Regions from separate parts of the Homo sapiens genome. Here all the other regions are linked to region 2. Evidence: promoter capture Hi-C in 16 types of primary human blood cells and fetal thymus (Javierre and others, 2016). All regions are on one chromosome and are shown on one strand. The core of a region is centred on a gene start or on the middle of the fragment in contact, and the rest is flanking DNA. Distances in the headings are between cores, read along the strand shown.

What was found. Contacts are between HindIII fragments. The CHiCAGO score rates a contact against its expected background, and 5 or more counts as called.
Region 1: a fragment that was not itself captured here is called in contact with the fragment with the promoter of CFAP53 in region 2 in 1 of 17 cell types (total CD8 T cells); the score reaches 5.9 in total CD8 T cells.
Region 3: a contact is called between a fragment that was not itself captured here and the fragment with the promoter of CFAP53 in region 2, in 16 of 17 cell types (total CD8 T cells, activated CD4 T cells, non-activated CD4 T cells and 13 more). The highest score is 16.0, in total CD8 T cells.

Annotation. Positions count from the first base shown.
Region 1 is chr18:49,446,828-49,449,527 of GRCh38, reverse strand. All of the region lies in intron 1 of DYM (dymeclin), which reads left to right. Among named protein-coding and RNA genes, the nearest start is that of DYM, 12 kb to the left of the region's middle. The HindIII fragment of the contact is 1,875 bases long and covers 319-2,193 here.
Region 2 is chr18:50,265,078-50,267,777 of GRCh38, reverse strand. It overlaps CFAP53 (cilia and flagella associated protein 53), which reads left to right and starts at 1,283. Exons shown (of 8, transcript NM_145020.5): 1 at 1,283-1,442. The coding sequence starts at 1,374. It also overlaps a transcript of MBD1 not described here. RefSeq lists enhancers at 1,318-1,387, 1,558-1,687, 1,034-1,879. The HindIII fragment of the contact is 1,610 bases long and covers 958-2,567 here.
Region 3 is chr18:49,502,145-49,504,844 of GRCh38, reverse strand. The region is part of intron 2 of LINC02837 (long intergenic non-protein coding RNA 2837); the gene reads right to left. Among named protein-coding and RNA genes, the nearest start is that of LINC02837, 4.1 kb to the right of the region's middle. The HindIII fragment of the contact is 1,708 bases long and covers 536-2,243 here.

The DNA.
Region 1 (2,700 bases), core at 7-2,506, 820 kb after region 2:
CTACTTTGGAGGAACATTATACAGGAAGAGATAGGAACCATTGTACACTGTGAAAGAAGGAAAAACACCATAGAAAAGTCTGGGGATTCCAGTTAGGGTTGTCAAGAGGTACCGCCTCTCTTCCTATTGGGAATTGTGTTTCTCTTATTTCTTTGCCTTCCCTATTTTCTCTTTTCGTTTTAGGCCTACTATAGGAAACGTTGCTTATCTTTCAATTTCTTTGCTGCCTGCTCTTCAGCTGTAATTAGGGTTTGGCTTAGAAGCAACATAAAATCTCTTCATGAGAGGTGAAACACCTGAGTTAAATTTTGGAAAGCTTCTATATACCTATCAGGGTCTTCAGAAAATTGGCCTCAGTCACCTTTATTTGCCTAAGGTCTTGCAAAGAGGAGGGAACTTGAACCCTAGTGACATCACCTCCATTGGGCATTTCCTGTAGAGGTAAGAGTGAAAGTGGGGAGTGGGAAATTTTGGAGATGGTGGAGGTGGAAGAACTGGTGGTATGGTTGGAGGTGGCCCTAAATAAGGGGGACTTGAAGGGCTGGGACACCCAATAGCTGCCTCAGATGATTTCCCCAGAAGTTGCTTCTCTCATTTTGGGGAATTATTCTCTTTGGGCCTGCTCAATATGATTGCTAAAAGGGCTGGGTTAATTCTGTAACGCTTGCAAAGGTCTAGTAAAAAGGCCATGCCCTGTGCAAAAGAAAATGAGCTGCTTTTTAAAGTTTCAGGGTCAAAGAAATCCTTGTGCTTCAGAATGCACTCCAGGGGAGTGCAGGATGAAGATGGTACCCACTTAGAGAAAAAGGTGGCCCTTTAGTCTCCTTCCTTTTGGTGTGACCCATGGTGGAGAGGAAGCAGTGGGGGCATCCCCCCTGCTTTTTTCCCCCTGTGTTTCCTGGGTCCCAGGCACCTTGTTGAACATGCTGCCCATGGTTGCAAGTGTGACCCCCAGTCATGGAACCAGAGGAACTAAGTCACTGGGGCTAGTCATGCTCACCCAAGTGGCTGTAGTCCTCTGCCTGTGATTTCCCTTTAACTTCCTAGACTTGTGTGACTTGCCTGGCTTCCTGAAAAATGGATTTCAAGAAAAACTACATAATAGTTGGGCAAGGCCCCTTTAATGCAGGGGATGTGCTAGATTGAACTCTGTATCCTGCTATTATGGCCTGTGCTGAAGCATTTACCCTTAGATAATGGTTCCAGTTAACTTCCAAACTTAAAATTCCCTTACTAATTAAGTACTACTCTAATTGAAGGCAGAATAGGTGGCTTAAAAAAACTTAGGGATTGAATGGCCATTTTCCTGCTGATGAGACAGTATTGAGACTAAATTTTGGCTTTGGAGGAATATTTTACCCCTAATTGTTGAAGGCAGAGTTTTCTCATTTACAGAACCAGCATAAAGCCTGGTTTCTAGTAGAGAGGCACAAAAAGGAAAGAGAATTGGGAGGCTAGGATGTTTCATTGGACTGACAGTGTGCTTCATGGAGAGGATTCCTATTTCACTAGGTGGCGCTGTTGACCTTGAAACACCACATACTCTCTAGACCAAGGGCAGAGAGAGACCTGGAAAATGCCATGTGCTCTCCAGACCAAGGGCAGAGAAAGAGAGATTCTCACTGTTGGGGGGTCAGGGAGCCCTGTTCTTAGAAAATCACAAAGACGCTTCCCCTTGAGCTATATGCCTTGTTACTACGACATTCCCTGATCTTACCAAACAAGACTACTTCCCTGAACCATAAAACTTCCCACACATTTCATACAGAGAGGATAAGAGATATGACGGTTGCGAACAGGAGAGGAGGAGATTACAATAGGAAAGTTGGAGATCCTGTTGCCGACACCGCATTGGGGCGGTTGGCGGCTGGGGTCCAGAAGCCTTTGGATAACACCAGGGGGTAGCGCCGGCCAGAAATCCTCAGTTGCCCCAGGACTTCTTCCAGCCCCACACGACAGCTAAGTCCTCCATGAAAGGTCTAAAATGGAAGCCGAGAACCTTGGAATGAAAGGACAGAGTTAGAGTTCGCTCTTCCCCTTACCGTTCTTATGAATGTTGTACCTTGGTATCCCGGACAAAGCTGCCATTATGAAGTGGCTACACTATCTGGGGTGTATACCCTAGGGTTTGTTGTTGCCTGCCGAGAAAGAATTAGGACACGGACATGTGGGTGGGTTAAGGAGTGGAAAGCTTAATAGACAGAAGAAAGGAGAGAGGAGAGCAGCTCCTTGAGAAAGAGACGTGTTCGAAAAAGGTACTTTCTGGTCTCTTATGCTTCTGCTTTGATTCCTTTTCTGTTCCAGCCATGTTAAACTTCTTTCAGGTCCTTGAACAGGCCCTACCTGTTATTTCTTAACCACAGGGCTTCACACGTGCTGTTCTCTGCTTTGGAAGTTTCTGAACTCCCACATCCACCCAGGCCAACCCTTCTTGTCCTTTAGGTCTTAACATTTTTTTTTTTTTTTTGTGATGGAGTCTTCCTCTGTCTTGCCCAGGCTGGAGTGCAGTGGCGTGATCTCAGCTCACTGCAGCCTCTACCTCCCGGTTTCAAGTGATTCTCCTGTCTCAGCCTCCCAAGTAGCTGGGATTACAGGCGCCTGCCACCACACCCAGCTAATTTTTGTATTTTTAGTAGAGACGGAATTTCACCGTGTTGGCCAGGTTGGTCTCGAACTCCTGACCTCAGGTGATCCACCCAC
Region 2 (2,700 bases), core at 34-2,533:
ATTATATGTCAGTTTGACGTAGGTACTGATTTGTTGCATGTGCTCACAAGTGTTCTATGCTCACCCCCACTTTAGAATGGGAGTATCACAGTGTCATTCTTAATTGGCTTTTAGGTATTACCACCTTGCTCTTGACTGGAAATGCAACTGTGGTTACCACCTGTGCTGCAGGTCCGTCCTGGTTCCCTGATTTGTGTTTCCTGTTCTGCCTGGATCCTGATTCTCAGAAACCAGTTACTGGACTTCTGATCCACATCCTGACCCTGGTCCACTGTGACCCTCAGACTCTTAATTATGCTCCACCAGGTCGTGCCACTGCCCCACTAGTCCATTTGATCTGCCCCCATCCTAGGATATCCTGAGTCTAAGCCCTGGTTTCTGCCAATGGCAAATAGGAAGATTTTATTAACAGGTTTTAAAAAATTATTATTATTACTGGTTATTTGGTTTGACAAGGCACTTAGGCTCCCTGAGCTTTGCCTTAGCTGGAAAATAAGGATAGTATTACTTGCTATTCTATCAACCCTGTAAGATATTTGCGGCCACGCGCGGTAGCGCACCCTGTAATTCCAACACTTTGGGAGGCCGGCGGGAGGGGCAGTGGGGAGGATCGCTTGAACCCAGGAGCAGGAGTTCCAGCCTGAGCAACATAGCGGGACCCCCTGTCTCTTCAAAATTTGTTTTTAAATTAGCAGGGCGTGGTGGCGCAGGCTTTGTAGTCCCAGATACTCTGGAGGCTGAGGCCCAGGAGGACGAGGCTGCAGGGAGCCATGATCACGCCACTGCACTCCACCCTGGGCGACAGAGCGAGACCTTGTCTCAGAAAAAATCTGTGAGGTTAAAAGGCTGTGTGTGTGAAAATATCTTGGAAATTGTAAAGAACTACACAAATATAAGGTTTTCCTGTGATTATTACCGTCATCAAGATTAACCTACAGATAGTGCAAAATTTAAGCTTCCCAAAAAATGTTCGCTAACCTTTTTCATACTTTTAGACCATTACAAGATATAAATAGCAAAGTCAACTGGAATTGTAATTAGAGCTTTGATTTTTCTTGGGCTAGAGGTTTTTTCTGCCATTCTGATGAACCCTGGAGGAAGGGAGCAAGGTCGGCGGGATTTGGCCGAGGGGCGGGGTGAGGACTGCGCAGGCTCAGCTTCTCAGCTGGAAGAGGAAGTCCCGAGTGCAGGCGTCTGCGGCCCCCATGGTGACCAGACCGACTTCCGCCCGACCCGCCCACCTCTACCGGCCCCTAATCCCGCGAGGCGCACCATGGCAACCAGACTTCTGCGTCGCGGAAGCGGGTCCCGCAGGTCGCCACGGTTGGGGGAAACGCGGCGGACGCCGCCCCCGTCCCGAAGGGGACTCGAAAATGTACAGCCAGCGGTTTGGCACCGTACAGCGGGAGGTTAAGGGCCCCACCCCCAAAGTGGTGATCGTGGTAAGCACAGGATATGTCTGCCAGACCCTACAGCTTTCTCCATCTCTCCGCACTCCAGGCCTGGCCTATCCCACTTCGGCCCCCACCCGGGGCCTTCTCGAGGGGAACGGGTGTCGCCTGATGCAGTGGGTTGAATTTTGAAAGAAGGAAGATAAGGTCGCTCACCTATCTACCCCACCTCTCACCCACTCATCTCCCTCTGTTTTCATCCTTACAGCCTTTCATCTGCCCCCAAAGTTATAATATTTAGGTTCTGTTTTTGGAGAATCACCACTAGGGATCTTAGGGTTTTTCAGTCTCCAAGACACCGGAAGGATGTCTGTCCCCCATGCAGTGGCGAGTGTGTGTTATGGAAAGGGCACCCGGCCCAGAGACAGATCTGGGGGCAGGGCGGGCCTATGATTTGGAGCTGGTCTTTCACTCCTAGGAAAATCGTCTGAGGAAGGGGAATTAGGTTGTGAGTGGTTATAGCACCCAACGCCTTTCCTGTGCCAACTCAACCAGTAACCATTGCTGGACAGAAGTGTCCCTTCAGACCTGGGAAAAACTCAGGTGCCTGCCTCTAAGGCTGGAGTGGTAGTAGGCCAGGAAAATGTGCTTGCTGCAGAATTTGATGGTTCCTGCTGAGAACCTCAGACACTATTGGTCCATACATGTAGATTTTTTTGTTTCTACAAATTAGTTTCTACCCACCAGAAAACTAACATGTAGGCAGAGTTATTGCTTGAGCCCCTGCTGTGTGCGCAGTATTGTGGGAGATACAGGGGTGGATACAATGATCCTGGAAGGTTAACTCTTTATTGAAGCCTGAGCCCTCCCTTCAAGGAGCTTATACAAGTCAAGTATCCCTTATCTGAAATGCTTGGGACCAGAGATGTCTAGGATTTCAGATTTTTTTTTTGGATTTTGGAATACTTGCATATACATAATGCAATATCTTGGGGAGGGGACCCAAGTCTAAACACAGAATTTATTTATATTTCATTACCTCGAAGGTAATTTTATTTTCCCCTTGGGGATGCTGAATAAATATGTGTTGTTTGCTTGTGTTTTGACTGTGACCCCTTACATGAGGTCAGGTGTGAAATTTTCCACTTATGTCATCATGTGGGTGCTCAAAAAGCTTCAGATTTTGGAGCATTTCAGATTTCAGATTTTCAAATTAGGGGTGCTCAACTTGTAATCCAATTGCAAAAAAAAACTTAGGTAGAATGAAACCACTAAAGGTTAGCACGGTAAATAATGATGTGCTATATTG
Region 3 (2,700 bases), core at 140-2,639, 760 kb after region 2:
TATATATAAAATCATGTCATCTGTAAACAGGGACTATTTTACTTCCTTCTTTTCAAATTGAATGTCCTTTTTTCTTTCTTTTGCCTAATTGCTCTGGCTAGGACTTCCAGTATTATGTTGTAATTCAAGAAATATTTGTTGAGAACTTATCATAAACAAAAAAATTATTCTAGGCACTAGAGGAAAAAAAAACAGACAAGAACTATGTCTTCTGCCAGGCACAGTTGCTCATGCCTGTAATCCCAGCACTTTGGAAGGTCGAGGTGGGCGGATCACCTGAGCTCAGGAGTTCGAGACCAGCCTGGCCAAAATGGCGAAACCCCCTCTCTACTAAAAATACAAAAATTAGCCGTGGTGGCATGCGCCGGTAATCCCAGCTACTGGGGAACCTGAGGCAGGAGAATCATCGAAACCCGGGAGTCGGAGGTTGCAGTGGGCCAAGATCACGCCACTATACTCCAGCCTGGGCGACAGAGCAAGGCTCTGTCTCAGAAAAAAAAAAAAAAAAAAAAAAGAACCATGTCTTCATGAAGCTTACATTTTTTGAAAAGGAGATAGAAATTTAAGAAGAAAACTAATAAATGTGATAATTTCATTCAGTGAGATATGTTGTGAAGACAATAAAACAAGATTATGTCAGAGAGGAGCTCCATAGACTGAGTGTCAGGGAAGGAGTTAAGGCTTCAGTGACTGGAAGAAGCCAACACGTGAAGACCTAGTTGTAAATCATTGGAAGGAAGGGCAAAAGCAAAGGCATCAAGACAGGAATGAGTTGACTGTATCCCTGAAGCAGCAAGGAGCCAATGTGGCTGGAGCAAAGTCAGTGCAGAGGAAAAGTATAGGAAATGAGGGCCTGGAGCTAGATCAGCCTGCACAGCACAGTAAGCAGTTTGGACTTTATTGGGTGTGAAATGTGAAGTCTTTCAAGGGTTTTAACCTGGGAAGTGCTTTGGAGAGAAGTGGGGAGTGTTATATTATATAGTTTATATTTTTTAAAGATTACATTTTCTGGTTATAGTTATCATAGTTCTAGAAACTGTATTTTAGGACAACCAAATCACCCCAGTTAATAAGAGAAAGCTCTTTTTACAAAGAATGCCAAGCTATTCAGATTAAAGAAAAATAAAGAGACATGGCAACCAAACACAATGCCTTATTCTGAATTTGGCTCTTCGTCCAAAAAAAATTCTATAAAAGATATTGTTGGGAAAATTGGCGGCAATTAAATATGGTCTCTAGGTTAGATAATATTATTATAGTAAATGTTAAATTTTCTGATTCTAAAACTGATTATGAAAGAGAACAACCTGGCCAGGCACGGTGGCTCATGCCTGTAATCCCAACACTTTGGAAAGCCGAGACGGGCAGATCACCTGAGGTCAGGAGTTCAAGACCAACCTGGCCAACATAGTGAAACCCAGTCTGTACTAAAAATACAAAAATTAGCCAGGCGTGATGGTGGGCGACTGTAATCCCAGCTACTCAGGAGGCTGAGGCAGGAGAATCACTTGAACCCCGGAGGCAGAGGTTGCAGTGAGCCGAGATCGCGCCAATACACTCTAGCTTGGGTGACAGCAAGCCTCTGTCTCAAAAATAAAATAAAAAGAAACAACAACCAGATGTCATGTGGGACCTAGATTGGGTCTTGCTTTGTTTCTGGTTTTTTTGTGTGTGTGTGGCTGCTTTGGTTGGTTGGTTTGTTTGTTTGTTTGTTTGTTTGAGACAGAGCCTTGCTCTGTCACCCAGGCTGGAGTGTAGTGACATGATCTCAACTCACTGCAACCTCTGTCTCCCAGCTTCAAGCAATTCACATGCCTCAGCCTCCAGAGTAGCTGGGACTACAGGTGTGTGCCACCACACCCTGCTAATTTTTTCTATTTTTAGTAGAGACAGGGATTCACCATGTTGGCCAAGCTGGTTTCGAACTCCTGGCCTCAAGTGATCTGCCTGCCTCAGCTTCCCAAAGTGCTGGGATTACAGGTGTGAGTCAGTGTGCCTGGCGGGTCTTGCTTTGAACAAACCAACTGGAAAGGACATTTGGGGAACAACTGGGATAACTGAAATTGAGGTTAGGTATTAGAAGAGATGAAAATGTATCAACATGGTAAAATTGAGATTAACTGGAAAAAAATCTGATTATGAAATAGCATGTACAGTATAATTTCACCTGGTAAGTATATATGTATATACATACACACATGAAGTATATATCTCACACTATACTAGAAGGATATATTAAAGCTTAATCTTTTGGAAATATAAGGATTTTATTTTCTTAATCTGCTTACCTGCTATATCTGACTTTCTATAAAACACATATAAATAATCTTAAATTTTTGAATAATTTTAAAATTTTACTTATTATTTATTTATTTATTGAGATGGAGTCACTCTGTCACCCAGGCTGGAGTGCAATGGTGCGATCTTGGCTCACTGCAACATCTGCCTCCCGGGTTCAAGAGATTCTCCTGCCTCAGCCTCCCGAGTACCTGGGATTACAGGCACGCACCACCATGCCCGGCTAATTTTTTCTTTTCTTTTCTTTTTTCTTTTTCTTTTTTTTTTTTGAGACAGAGACTCGCTCTGTCACCCAGACTGGAGTGCAGTGGTGCGATCTCGGCTCACTGCAACCTCCGCCTCCCAGGTTCAAGCCATGCTCCTGCCTCAGCCTCCCAAGTAGCTGGGACTACAGGCGTGTGC